Linked DNA regions of Homo sapiens: region 1 is linked to region 2. Evidence: promoter capture Hi-C in 16 types of primary human blood cells and fetal thymus (Javierre and others, 2016). All regions are on one chromosome and are shown on one strand. The core of a region is centred on a gene start or on the middle of the fragment in contact, and the rest is flanking DNA. Distances in the headings are between cores, read along the strand shown. Region 1 holds the start of ADAMTS7 (ADAM metallopeptidase with thrombospondin type 1 motif 7). Region 2 holds the start of DNAJA4-DT (DNAJA4 divergent transcript).

Evidence for each region. Contacts are between HindIII fragments. The CHiCAGO score rates a contact against its expected background, and 5 or more counts as called.
Region 1: the fragment with the promoter of ADAMTS7 here is called in contact with the fragment with the promoter of DNAJA4-DT in region 2 in 1 of 17 cell types (M0 macrophages); the score reaches 5.8 in M0 macrophages.

Annotation. Positions count from the first base shown.
Region 1 is chr15:78,806,616-78,812,713 of GRCh38, forward strand. It overlaps ADAMTS7 (ADAM metallopeptidase with thrombospondin type 1 motif 7), which reads right to left and starts at 4,849. Exons shown (of 24, transcript NM_014272.5): 1 at 4,506-4,849. The coding sequence starts at 4,605. RefSeq lists a silencer at 4,877-5,296. The HindIII fragment of the contact is 7,795 bases long and covers 693-6,098 here.
Region 2 is chr15:78,261,586-78,267,835 of GRCh38, forward strand. It overlaps DNAJA4-DT (DNAJA4 divergent transcript), which reads right to left and starts at 2,559. Exons shown (of 4, transcript XR_001751621.1): 1 at 2,472-2,559; 2 at 2,287-2,372. DNAJA4 (DnaJ heat shock protein family (Hsp40) member A4) reads left to right here and starts at 2,977. Exons shown (of 7, transcript NM_001130182.2): 1 at 2,977-3,310. The coding sequence starts at 3,179. RefSeq lists silencers at 2,831-2,910, 3,221-3,510. The HindIII fragment of the contact is 6,233 bases long and covers 1-2,926 here.

The DNA of each region.
Region 1 (6,098 bases), core at 3,599-6,098, 550 kb after region 2:
GGAAGGGAGCCCAGGTCAAGGAGACGAAAATGACAGAGATAGGGAAGAACTACTTCCCAGGTTCACTCGCAGTGGGAGATTTCCTAACTTTCCCAAGGATCACAGTTCGTGGAGGCTACAACTCCAAGGCTTGTTTTTGTTTTGTTTTGTTTATGTTTTTGTTTTTTTGAGAGAGAGTTTCGTTCTTGTCCCCCAGGCTGGAGTACAATTGCATGATCTTGGCTCACTGCAACCTCCGGCTGCTGGGTTCAAGCAATTCTCCTGCCTCAGCCTCCCAAGTAGCTGTAATTACAGGTGCAAGCCACCATGCCCAACTAATTTTTGTATTTTTAGTAGAGGTAGAGTTTCGCCATGTTGGCCAGGCTGGTCTCGAACTCCTGACCTCAGGTGATCCACCCGCCTCAGCCTCCCAAAGTACTGGGATTACAGGCATGGGCCACCATGCCCACCCTCCAACACTTGTTTTAAGTGAGTATTAACGTTGGTTCCCAGGGCAAGGACAATCCCAGCCAAGGCAGCTAAAGATGAGCTGAAGGTCAGGGGGGCACTGATGCCAACCAGCTCTAAAATTCTCAACTGGGGGAGCTACATGACACTCTTTTAGGCAAGTTTTGTCCTCAAATGCATGTGGTTGGGGAATGGAAGCAGGTATGTAACTGAGGAATCAACCACTGGGGAGAAAAGGCCCCAAAAGCTTAAAAAAAATAAAGTATCTCTGGGGAAGAACCCATGCCCCAGCGGATGTACAGTCCTGTTGAGAATACCTGCTGTAGATCCTGGGCAAATATTGCAAGACAGAAATTCCAGATGACTTACAAAGAAGCATCCTATTAAGTTCAAAAATGTGGACAGGGCTAAGTAGAGCTATGCCGCAGGTGAAAAGCATTCGGATTAGTGAGCTCTAGAGCCAGAGAGGCTGTGTTTGAATCCCAGCTCTGCTACCCATATCTGTGAGACCATGGGTAAATTACTCAACCACTCAGAATCTCAGTTTCTCCATCTGTAAAATGGGGATGATAATAATTACAGCTGCTCTCTTTGGTTGTGTAAGAATTAAATGAGTTAGTATGTAAGTGCTTATAACAACAGCTGGCACATAGCAAATGTGAGCTAAGTTATGACTGAAAATTAGCAAGAGAACTTCTAAAGTATATTTAGCTTTTTCTTTTAAAAACTTGTTGTTTTATCTGTTTGCCTAATGGCTTAAAAACAAACAAAACAAAACAAAACAAAAAACATGTTTTTATTTATTTATTTCTTTTTTTTTTTTCTGAGATCTCCCAGGCTGGAGTGCAGTGATGCGATCGTGGTTTACTGCAGCCTTGACCTCCTGGGCTCATGCAATCCTCCCACCTCAGCCTCCCAAATAGCTGGGACTACAGGCGTGGACTACCAGGCCTGGATAATTTTTAAATTTTTTTGTAGAGATGGGGTCTCATTATGCTGCCCAGGCTGGTCTTGAATTTCTGGGCTCAAACGATCTGCCTACCTTGGCCTCCCAAAGTGCTGGAATTACAGGTGTGAATCACTGTGTCTGGTCTAAAACATGTTTTTCAATCAACAATAAAAGAATAGACTTACAGGATGTTGCCACTTTTATTGCAATAATTTTTTTCTTGTTTTGTTCAGATTTTTTCTTTTGAGACAGTCTCCCTGTGTCACCCAGGCTAGAATGCAGTGGTGCGATCTCGGCTCACCGCAACCTCTGCCTCCTGGGTTCAAGCAATTCTCATGCCTCAGCCTTCCGAGGAGCTGGGATTACAGGCATGCACCACCATGTCCAGCTAATTTTTGTATTTTAATAGAGATGGAGTTTCACCATGTTGGCCAGGCTGGTTTCGAACTCCTGGCCTCAAGTGATCCGCCAGCCTCAGCTTCCCAAAGTGCTGGGATTACAAGCATGAGCCACTGCAGCCCGCCAGCATTACCTTTTTTTATAGTGAACTTGTATTGTTTTGCCATTAAAATATTTTTAAAAAGTGCAGGGGTAAGTTTAAAAATAAGTAACTTTCACTGTAGCCTAGTTGACCTCACTCAGTAGAGATGTTGGTGGCTGAAACTAGCACCACCCAGTGCCAGCAAGGAGTAATTGCAGGTTCCAGTCTCGACCGGTTATGTGCTTGCAACAAAGCTGAGCCTGCAGAGTTCAAGTGACAGTGGGATGGCAACAGGCACCATTCAAGAGGACTGCCAGAGATTCATGGCCAAATCTATTCTGCCAAGTCAGGAGGTCTGTTCTGATTGGACCAAGCTCCTGCCACATTGGGTGTTAAATACTTTTAATATCTCCCCTGGGTGACAGAACTGTCACTTTGGAGCTTCTACCAAAGAAATGCCAAGATGGTGTTTACCCTCACCTCCCTATCAAGAACCTGAGTTACAATCCAGCCCTTCAAATGACCCACAGCTCATGCCAAGGAGGAAAAATAACTGGCAGGGTGGGGGGTAGTATGTGAATGCCCTCCTCTGTGAGTTCTAGTATGCACAGAAACACATGCACACAGAGTTCACATGTGCCATACGGCATGAGGAGGACACATGACTGGGCTCCAGCCTCAGAAACCCTAGCAGGTCCCTGGGTCAGTCACAAGTGGGGAAAAGGGATATATTTTCCTAAAAGTGAGCCCAGGATGAGCCCTTTGGTCTTAAAGAAGGTAACATTCAGTGGTAGGAGGAGCCCCAGGCTTAGGTCCTGGGCTTCAAAGAAAATGACAAACAGGCCAGCAGCCTCAGAGTCACCAATCCTGAGGGAGTGCAGAACAGGAAGGACCCCATGCTCTATATCTATGGGAACACTAGAGACAGACTTCACCCTTGGAGTGTTTGTGCCCAGATTAGGTTGGAGAGAGTGCCTGGCCTGCCTCCACCCTCAAACAGCAGGTCCAGGTCATCTGGGGAGTCCTGGGTCGGCCTGGCAGATTAATAAAAATAATGACCACTACATTGTAGTCACTGTGTCCTGCCTGAGCAACTGACATATTCAATATCTCATTTAATCCTCATAAGAATCCCACGAGGTTGACCGCACCCAACTCTTCCCACAGCTGCCAGGGGGCCAGGACCCAAGTCCTGAGGGAAGCATTTTCCTGCTCTCCCATTCCCATCGCCCGGTTCATCCTCCTCAGCCCCCAGCTCTGGACAGTGGAAAACACAAGCCTCATTCAGGAAGCTCAGGAGTCCAACCCCACAGGTCGCTCTACTCTGAGCCTGTTTGCTGGTCCATAAAAGGACTTTCCATCACTTGCTTTGCACGGTTGTTGTGGAGATGATGAGAAATAAGAACCCGTGAGGCTGGCACACAGTAGGTGCTCATTAAATGTTCGCTCCCTCTGCGCTCTGCGCATGGCTGCTAGACCAAATCTTTCCAAAACACTGCTTTCATCAGCTGCTCCCCTCAACGGCTTCCCAAACCTCTAAGATCAAGAGTCAATGTCCCCATCCTTCCCGCCCAGACTACTTTCTCGTCACAATCCCTCCAGTGGGGAGGCAGGTCGACCCCATCCCAGCAAGCAACCCTAATCCAGTCCCCCGACTGATGCTCCCCAGGGGAGGGCCCCACTCCCTCCACGCCCTTCTAGCTCATCCAGAATCCATCCATCCTTCCAGTCTCTCCAACCTCATGCCCCTCCTCTCCTACAAAGCCTGCCGGTCGGCTCTATTGCAGGACTCTCCCCACTATCCACCGGCTCCCCTGACTGGGAGCTCCCTGAGCACCGGGCCTGGGGTCTCCTACATCCTCGGTTACTGAATTCCCAGGCCGGCTGCGTCGGACGCGCCAGCAGCGCGGCCGCCCGGCAGGTCGCCGCCAAACAAGAGTCTGGACGCAGGCCAGAGGCTCGTCGGAGGCCGGCCCGGCGGGGCGGGGAGAGTTAACCCATGGCCGGGAAAAGAAGCTCCTGCTCCCCGCTCCACTCCCGGCGTCTTCACACTTGGGGAAGGGAGAGGCAGGAAGTGCAAGGACCGCGCAAGACCCGGCCCCCCGAGCCGCCAGGGGCCGCGCCAGCAGCCCAGATGCGGTGGGCGGGAGCTGGGGGGGCGGCGGGGTCCCGCGAAGACCTGCGACCTGGCGCCCTCGCCGGCTGTGTCCCGGCCAGCCCGCTTTCCAGGCGAGCCTCGCTAAGGAGTGTGAGAAACCAAATCCTCAGTGGGTAAACCGCGCTCCGTCCAGCCCACTCGGACGAGAGCTCTCCCGGGAGCCAGGCGCGTTGCTGCACCCGAGGTGGGGAAACCGGAGCCCGAAGAGCGGAAGGGGCTTATTCCAGGCGACAGGCAGTGTCAGTAACTGAATCAGGGGCCGAGGAAGTTTCCCCAGAAGCGCGGCTTCGCTCCCGGCCCGGCCCGACCCCGACTACTGTCCCCTAATACCCAGGGAGCGGAAGACGCGACCAACTCCAGGCACAGCGGAGCCGGCGCGGGGTCCACAAAGGTGAGGAGGGACAAAACCGAGACTGGGGGAGCGGGAAGGGGTGGCAGGCCCGGCTGGCCGGGGAGGGGCGGACACCCACCTGGTGCGGGTCCGGGGGCGCCGGGAGCCAGAGCGCAGAGGAGCAGGAGGAGGGGGCGCAGCAAAGGCGCGGGGCTGCGGGGACTGGGGCCGCCGGGCATGGCAGGAACCGGGCGGCCGCCGGGTGACCCCGCGCGCACGCTCTCGTCCGTCCCGTCCGGTCGCTGCCTGGTCCCAGGTCCGGCTCAGGACATGCCCGGCCGGCGTGCAGCTCCCGGCGACCCGGCCCCGACTCCGTTCGGCTGCGCTCGGTCCGCGGGCAACAAAGGCTGCAGGGCCCGCCCCCTTGGCCGCTGCAGAGGCAAAGAAAAGACAAGAGAGCTAGAAGGAGAGAAAGAAAGAAAGAAAGAAAGGGAGGGAGAGTGAGGGAGGGCGGCTGCCGGCCCCCGCCCCGCCCCTCGGACTCCTTCCCCCGCCCCTGGCCCCGCCCCGCCCCGGCCGGCCCCGGCCTCATCGGCCCCGCAGGCCGTGCTCGCCTCAAGGGCTGGCCGGCCCGGCGCAGGCAGCGCCCCGCAACGGATGTCCGCCCCCCTCGCCCCCCTGTCCCGAGCGCCCCCTGCCGGCGGAGCCCTGCCAGGCCTTTCCGACCCCGGCCGGTTGAGGACCCCCGGAAAGAATCTGGAATTTCCAGAATTAATGTGTTGTCCCTAAATTGGGCTCCACGAGGTGCCCTTCGCTGTGTTCCCCAGGCCAAGCAGGGCAGCCCCTCAAAAGGGGACGCGGGAGGCCTCCAGAGGGCCACACCGGGGGCCCTGCTTCAAAGCTATCTGCGGAGACAGGCCTGGGCCCTCCCTGGACAGACAGCGGTTGCCCGCGCGAGGTGGGGCCCCGCAGTTCCTCGTCTCCTGACTCCTCTCCTAGTGCGTTTGCTTGAAGCAGAGCGCAGAGTTGAGCCCACAGGCGGGGGACCGCGGCTTCGCCCAGGCCAGCGCCCACAGACTTTCAGCAGGGGCTCCCGGGGAGCCTGGAGGCCGGCCAACCCCAGCCTCACATCCCAGGCCAGCCTCCGCCTCCAACACCGGCCGTCTGTCCTTCGTGGCCCCAGCCCTGGCTCTGGCTTCCGGCTCCCCTTCCCCCTGTGCTCCCAGGAGCTTCCTTTCTCCCTTCTGCCGTCACTAAACATGGCCCTGTACCGAGGACGCCCGTCTTGTCCTCGGGGCGGTTGCGGTCAGCTTCCTCCCCTTGGTTAGTCTTTGTGTGCCCCCTGCCCTCTGAGGCCCGCACACCTCCTCATTGTCCAATCTCCTGGGCCCTTTCATTCAATTCCTGGAAGCTCACTTCTGGCTTCCTCTCCACCCTCAACCTGTCTGTCCTCTAGGGAATTTGTGTAGTACAGGGTCACCTACTTCCTCCATCTCATCTCCAGTGACCTTCCACTCCACCTCAGCCATCAGGTCTCAGGGCCAAAGCCTGGGCTGTGTCATCCCTCAGAACTGCTCCATCTTGGAAATCCGAAGCTCAGGTGCCCCCCTGTCAGACCCGACTCTGCAGTCCTTTCCACCTTCACAGTCCCACTATGTATTGCTCTTCCTCCAGTCCCTTGATACCTTCCTCTTCGCCCAACCTACCAGCCCCTCCTGGCTTCACCTACTTC
Region 2 (6,250 bases), core at 1,309-3,808:
GAAATCTGCTGTGAACTGTGCATGCGGGGGATCTAGGTTGCATGCTCCTTATAAGAATCTAACGCCTGATGATCTAAGGTGGAACAGTTTCATCCTCCATTTTTTTTTCTTTTTTGAGATAGAGTCTTTCTCTGTTGCCCAGGCTGGCATGCAGTAGCACAGTCTCAGCTCACTGCAACCTCTGCCTCCCGGGTTTAAGTGATTCTCCTATTTCAGCCTCCTGAGTAGCTGGGATTACAGGCACGTGCCACCACACCTGGCTAATTTTTGTATTTTTAGTAGAGACGGGGTTTCACCATGTTGGCCAGGCTGGTCTCAAACTCTTGAGCTCAAGTGATCTGCCCACTTCGACCTCCCAAAGTGCTGGGATTACAGGCCTGAGCCACCACACCTGGCCAAAAATATCTGATTTTACTAGACAATCCTATTGTTATTTATTTTTTATTTTTTGAGACAGAGTCTTGCTCTGTCACCCAGGCTGGAGTGCAGTGGTGTGATCTCAGCTCACTGCAGCCTCTGCCTCCCGGGTTCAAGCGATTCTTGTGCCTCAGCCTCCTGAGTAGCTGGGATTACAGGCGAGCACCACCATCCCTGGCTAATTTTTGTATTTTTAGTAGAGATGGAGTTTCACCAAGTTGGCCAGACTGGTCTTGAACTCGTGGCCTCAAGTGATCTGCCCACCTCGGCGTCCCAAAGTGCTGGGATTACAGGTGTGAGCCACCACGCCAGGCCTTCATCATAGAATTATTGCCCACCCCCACCACCCTGTCCGTGACAAAATCGTCTTCCATGAAACTGGTCTCTGGTGCCAAAAAGCCTGGGAACTGGTGATCTTAAGGATGTGACGTTGAATTATTAGAAACTGTGTTGCTGTCTGTTCAGTCTTTATAGGCCAAGACTGAAGCCTAGTTGAGAAGAGGGCTCATAGGAGCCTGGCTAAGTTCCATCAAGAAGAGAATCACTATCAGCTTCTATACCTTAGCCCCTGCCCGCACCCCCCCACCCCCAAAAAGCATCAATATTGTGACTATATACCAGGTGTTTCACAAAGTTATGAAGTAGTTATAATTAATATCCTCATTAAAAGGTTAAGAAAACTGAGGCTCAGAAAGGTTAAGTTGTCTGCCCAAGGTTCCACAGCCAGAAGTAGCAGTGCTGGGATTTGAACCTAGGTCTAAGTCTCACTGGTTCCAGAATTCACTGTCGTCCAAAGTGCATAGCTCCATTCTATGTTTCTAGGCTCTGTCTTTAAGCCATCCCTCTCCTGCACATGCCCATTTTACGAATGCCTATGGTCCCGAGTACTAAATCTGGACAAGTATGTGACCCTGGGCAGTGGATCTCGGCTCTGGCTGTACCACCTGGGGAGCTTGAAAAACACTGATGCCTGGGCCTCACCCCTAGAAGCTCTAAGGTAACAGGTGTGGAGTGCAACCCAGAGGGATTTTTAGAAGATTCCAGGTGATCTCTGTCAGGAGCCAGGTTTGAGACCCACTGCGCTAGGAGTCTTCACAGTTATCATCCCATTTGATGCTTATAAGAGCCCTGTGAGAAAGGCAGGCAAGTGGCAATCCCCATGTCCTGCTGACGAAGAAAAGTGTTGAGATGCTAAGGCTCAGACAGTAAGATCTGGATAGAAAACAAAGTTTCTGACCTCTAGCTCTGAGTTCTCTGCCTAAAGGTTCTGCTCTACAAGGCATAATTTAAAAAAAAAAAAAGCAACATCTCCAAGAAGAGCAGCTTAATTTCTCTTGTACAGTACAAGTCACTTCTCACCCCCATGGAACACATGGAGGAGAGGTAGTACCTGCTTCAGCCACAGTACCCAAAACAAGGCCAGGGCATCCCAGGGAGGTGAGCAGTGACCCCCCTTTCTGACAAACTGTTCCCCTGGCAGAAGCCAAGGGAGGGCTAGGGGACAGGGGCCTGCAATTCTGTGATAGCGTTGGGGCCTGCTTTCCACGCCCACTTTTCTGCAACGGTTTGTGATCTGGACTCCCTGAGCACCCGTTGGGAGCTGGGGGCAGCCTAGGGAAGTCGGGACCTACTCCTGTACCCTTCCAAGGCAAGCATCCTGGGCCACCTAGCCGTTTCAGGGTCCAGGCCATGGGACCCCCTGTGCATAACACTGGGCCCAACAGCCTGGTCGGGCCCTGATGTTTGCTCACTGATGATGTGCAGAGGAGAGGGGGCAGTTTCCCACTTCTGGGAGAAGAGAGGGCACTGTCGGCCCTTGGCAGACTTGGGGGGCGTCACTGCCCATATGTGGGGGACGTCACTGCTCACCTTGAGGGACTTAAGGGTTCCCAGTGGTGGGCATTCGAGAGGATACTGTCCACATCTGGGGCCAGCAAAGGACCCCTGTACCTCAACTGGAAGGCCAGAGGTTCACCTCAGCCTTGCAGTCATGAGGCAGCAGAGGGCCCCTACCCACTCCAACCCCCTAAAAAATGCAACAATCCCAGGCACACCTTAGGCCGCAGCCTGGCTGTGACCGAACAGACGGCGGCCACACCCCCGGGGAGAGGCCGGGTGGGGACCGCAGGGCGCAGCTCTCCCAGTCCCACCCTTCGGCGCAGGGCTCCGGCCAACACAGCCCTCCAGGCCGCCTACTCTCCAGCCAGCCGGCTCCACGGACCCACGGAAGGGCAAGGGGGCGGCCTCGGGGCGGCGGGACAGTTGTCGGAGGGCGCCCTCCAGGCCCAAGCCGCCTTCTCCGGCCCCCGCCATGGCCCGGGGCGGCAGTCAGAGCTGGAGCTCCGGGGAATCAGACGGGCAGCCAAAGGAGCAGACGCCCGAGAAGCCCAGGTGAGCGGCTGGGCCGCGCCGGACGGGCGTCGGGGGTCTGGGCCGCGAACCCGCCGCGGGGCCGCCGGAACCTCCGCGAAGGTTCTAGGCCTTTGTGGCGTCACCGTCTCCTTGCGGAAGCTTCCGCCGGCGCCGAATAAAACCCGCCGCGGAGGAGCCGGTGGCTCTAGTGCGGTGGAGCCAGGCGTGGAAGTCGGTCCGGCGCGGGGCGGGGGGCGGGCGGGAGCTACAAGCGGCGGCGGCGGCGGCGACCGTGACCGTGACGCGCGAGCGGGCGGCGGGGGCGCGGGCCAGGGGCGCGGGCCAGGGTGCCGGCAGGGGCGTCCGGGGCGCTCTGACCGGCCTCGCCCGCCCCCCCCGCAGACACAAGATGGTGAAGGAGACCCAGTACTATGACATCCTGGGCGTGAAGCCCAGCGCGTCCCCGGAGGAGATCAAGAAGGCCTATCGGAAGCTGGCGCTCAAGTACCACCCGGACAAGAACCCGGATGAGGGCGAGAAGGTGCGGGGCGGCGCGGGGCACGGGCCGGGCTCCCGAGGGGCCAAGGGTTATTAAGCCAGGAGCATTGAAGGCGACGGGAAACCTGAGCCGCGTTTGTTGGGGAGGCTGTCGCCAGGCGCCTCGGGGCCAGGCCGGGCAGAGGTGGCGGGAGACCCTGGGCGCCGTGCGGCGCGGTCGGTGGAGGGCGCTTCGCCCGCGGAGGAGGCATGTGGTGCGGCACTTGGGTCCCTCGCGAGTCCCTGCCGAGCCCATTCATTCCTCCATTCGCTCCACAAGTGTTTGGGTAGCCCCTGCCGTGCGCGCCGGACTAGTTCTCATAGGGTGTGTTGGTTCCCTGTGGGAGAGGCGGCCTGGGAATCGGGAAACTGAGGCACACACAAACAGTTGTTTACTTGCTGGGAACGACTGGCTCATATTCTCTGTTGATGCATAAACCCTAGGGATGAGTGTCTTTAATCTGAGCTGGTACCTTGGACAAACGCCGTGCCTCTCTTGAGAATGACTAGCTGGATTTGTTCTGTGCACCTACTGCCTACCTGATAAAAGCGTCAGATAGTGAATAATCCCATTTTCTTTATTAAACAGGGACACGGACATCTGCAACCTGACATCAGCTTGTACTCATATTCTGGGTTTTCGGTGACAAGTGACACACAGTTGATCATAAGTACCAATCATAGACTGAAAATGCTCTGCATTTTAGAGACAGAAGTTAAAAGCTTTTCCATCCTGTTTACAGAAAGTTTGCTTTTTATCTCTAAAGAGGCTCATGACCCACCTGAATAGGTGAATTGAAGGATGAGGCATTGCAAGGAAAGGCTGCTAACCCTCCCGTTCCTCCTTTCACTTCTTGCCATTTTCTTACAAAACTTTGGTTGTTCCGCATGGGTCTTGAGAGGTGGGGCCGTTATAGTAGCTGATAGCAGTGTCACTTGGGCCACGTTTGAAACCACACCAATCACCCATGTAGCATTTAAGACCTGTGGAAACGACGCTGGAATCAAAATACCTGTCTGTGTTAGTTGTTCCAAGCTGGAGAAAGCTACTTCAGGACGGTTGGCTGAATGGCAACAGTGATGGAATATTTATATTTAGCCACATGTGCTGAATGTGGCTGTCACAAGTTTAAAATGCTTTCCTGTAAGACCATTTGTCTGTTACTCACTTGCGTTCTTTCTCATCTATATTTAGATGGCTTACTGTAGCTTTTAAAGGCACTGGCGTTTTACATGGTGCTGGTGATTCATCCACCTGCTCCCTACATTCATTGTGGTCCGCTTCTGACAGTCTCCTTTAAGGAGAGCTTGTAGGCTTCTAATTTCACATTTCAGCAAGCTGGCTAAAGACATGTGGGAAAGCCTGACCCTGGATTCAGGTCAAATCTCAGCACTCACAAGAGTAAGTTCATGCCTCTGTGTATACAGTTAGAGCTGAATATGCTTTTGTTCTGAAGCTTTTATTTTTAAAAAATTAGACTTGACCTGTACTACATATGTGTAGGTTTCACCCTGTCTATACCTGTCTGGGCAGGTTGTTTGGTTTGTTTTAAACTAATATTTATTCATAGCCAGGCACTGAGTTAGTGTCACATAAATGAGGCCCTTGGCAGTGAGGTCTGGCAGGCCCATCAGCTTGGAGGGAAGGGTTCTGTGATGTGCCCATTGCCAGGAATACTTTCCTTCCTCTACCTTCATGGAAGGGGATAAAACTCTTTAGTTCTCAGCTAAAACATCTTCCAGGAGGCTGCCTCTGCCTCATAGACTGAACCACAGGCCCAACGTGCATCCTACTTTAATGGTGATTACTTGTTTGATTAACTGTATTCCTTTAATGGTGATTACTTGTTTGATAACTGTATTACCTGCCATAATGTAAGCAGGGCAGTGACTGTGCCCCCATGGCCACTTATGGGGTGAGTATCTAGCTGTGCAGGGTAGGTGCTAAAATGTTTGTTAGCTGGCTGAGTAAATGCACTTTAAAAAATTGTGTGTAGGAGGAGAGGGCCCTATAAAGGCACAAATTGGAAGGGAAATTGCAGTGAAAGGGATATTGGGAGGAGAGTGGCAATTTAGATCGGAAATCAAAGAGGATGAGGAGACTGGGGACACAATTTATAGAAACGGCTGTAGAGTTCCCCAGAGAGAGCTCATTCATTCATTCATTCATTCATTCAACAAATACCTCCTCTTCTGGTCCCCACTGTGTGCTGGGTGCACTGTGCAGGCCTTTTGTGAGTGTGTATGTGAGTGTGTGTGTGAGTGTGTATGTGAGTGTGTGAGTGTGTGAGTGTGTGTGTGAGTGTGTATGTGAGTGTGTATGTGTGTGTAGTTCTTTTCCACTTTATCACAGGTAGAACCTTTAAATTTTTTTTTCCTCCTAAGTTCGTCACTGTATTATTAACGTCTCTTCAAAAATAGACTACACCAGTTCTTTACCCCTTGCTGGGAAAACTGAGAAGGCCGTTGAAATGTTGGTCTTTGTTTTTTGCCCTGTTGTCCCCTGTTGCTAAGCATTGGGGCACCTTGTGTTTTTTGGGCACTCTGTATGGAGTCTGTACTTCTCTGCGGGTGTTTTTTTTTTGTTTTTTGTTTTTTTTGCAAGATGCATGGGTGGTAGGTAGTGGGTCACCAAGATAGTCCCTTTTAGGGGCAATGATGTGGGGTATATTCTTGGCTATTACCCTGTTGAGATGAGTTTGGTCTTTTGGTCAATTTCATTGTAACTTTTAGTTTGAATAATAGACTTTCAAGTTCAAAAATCAGAACATAGCAAACCATGCAGAAAATTTTAGAACACAGAGGGAAACCTACCAAGTACACATTATCCTAACCACTCTGTGCTTCTTTCCAAGCTTTCCCCAGTATGATCATACATGGCCATCCTGATACATAGACATTTTGTTTTCTTGTTTCCACTTAATATTTTATTATAAGTACTTTT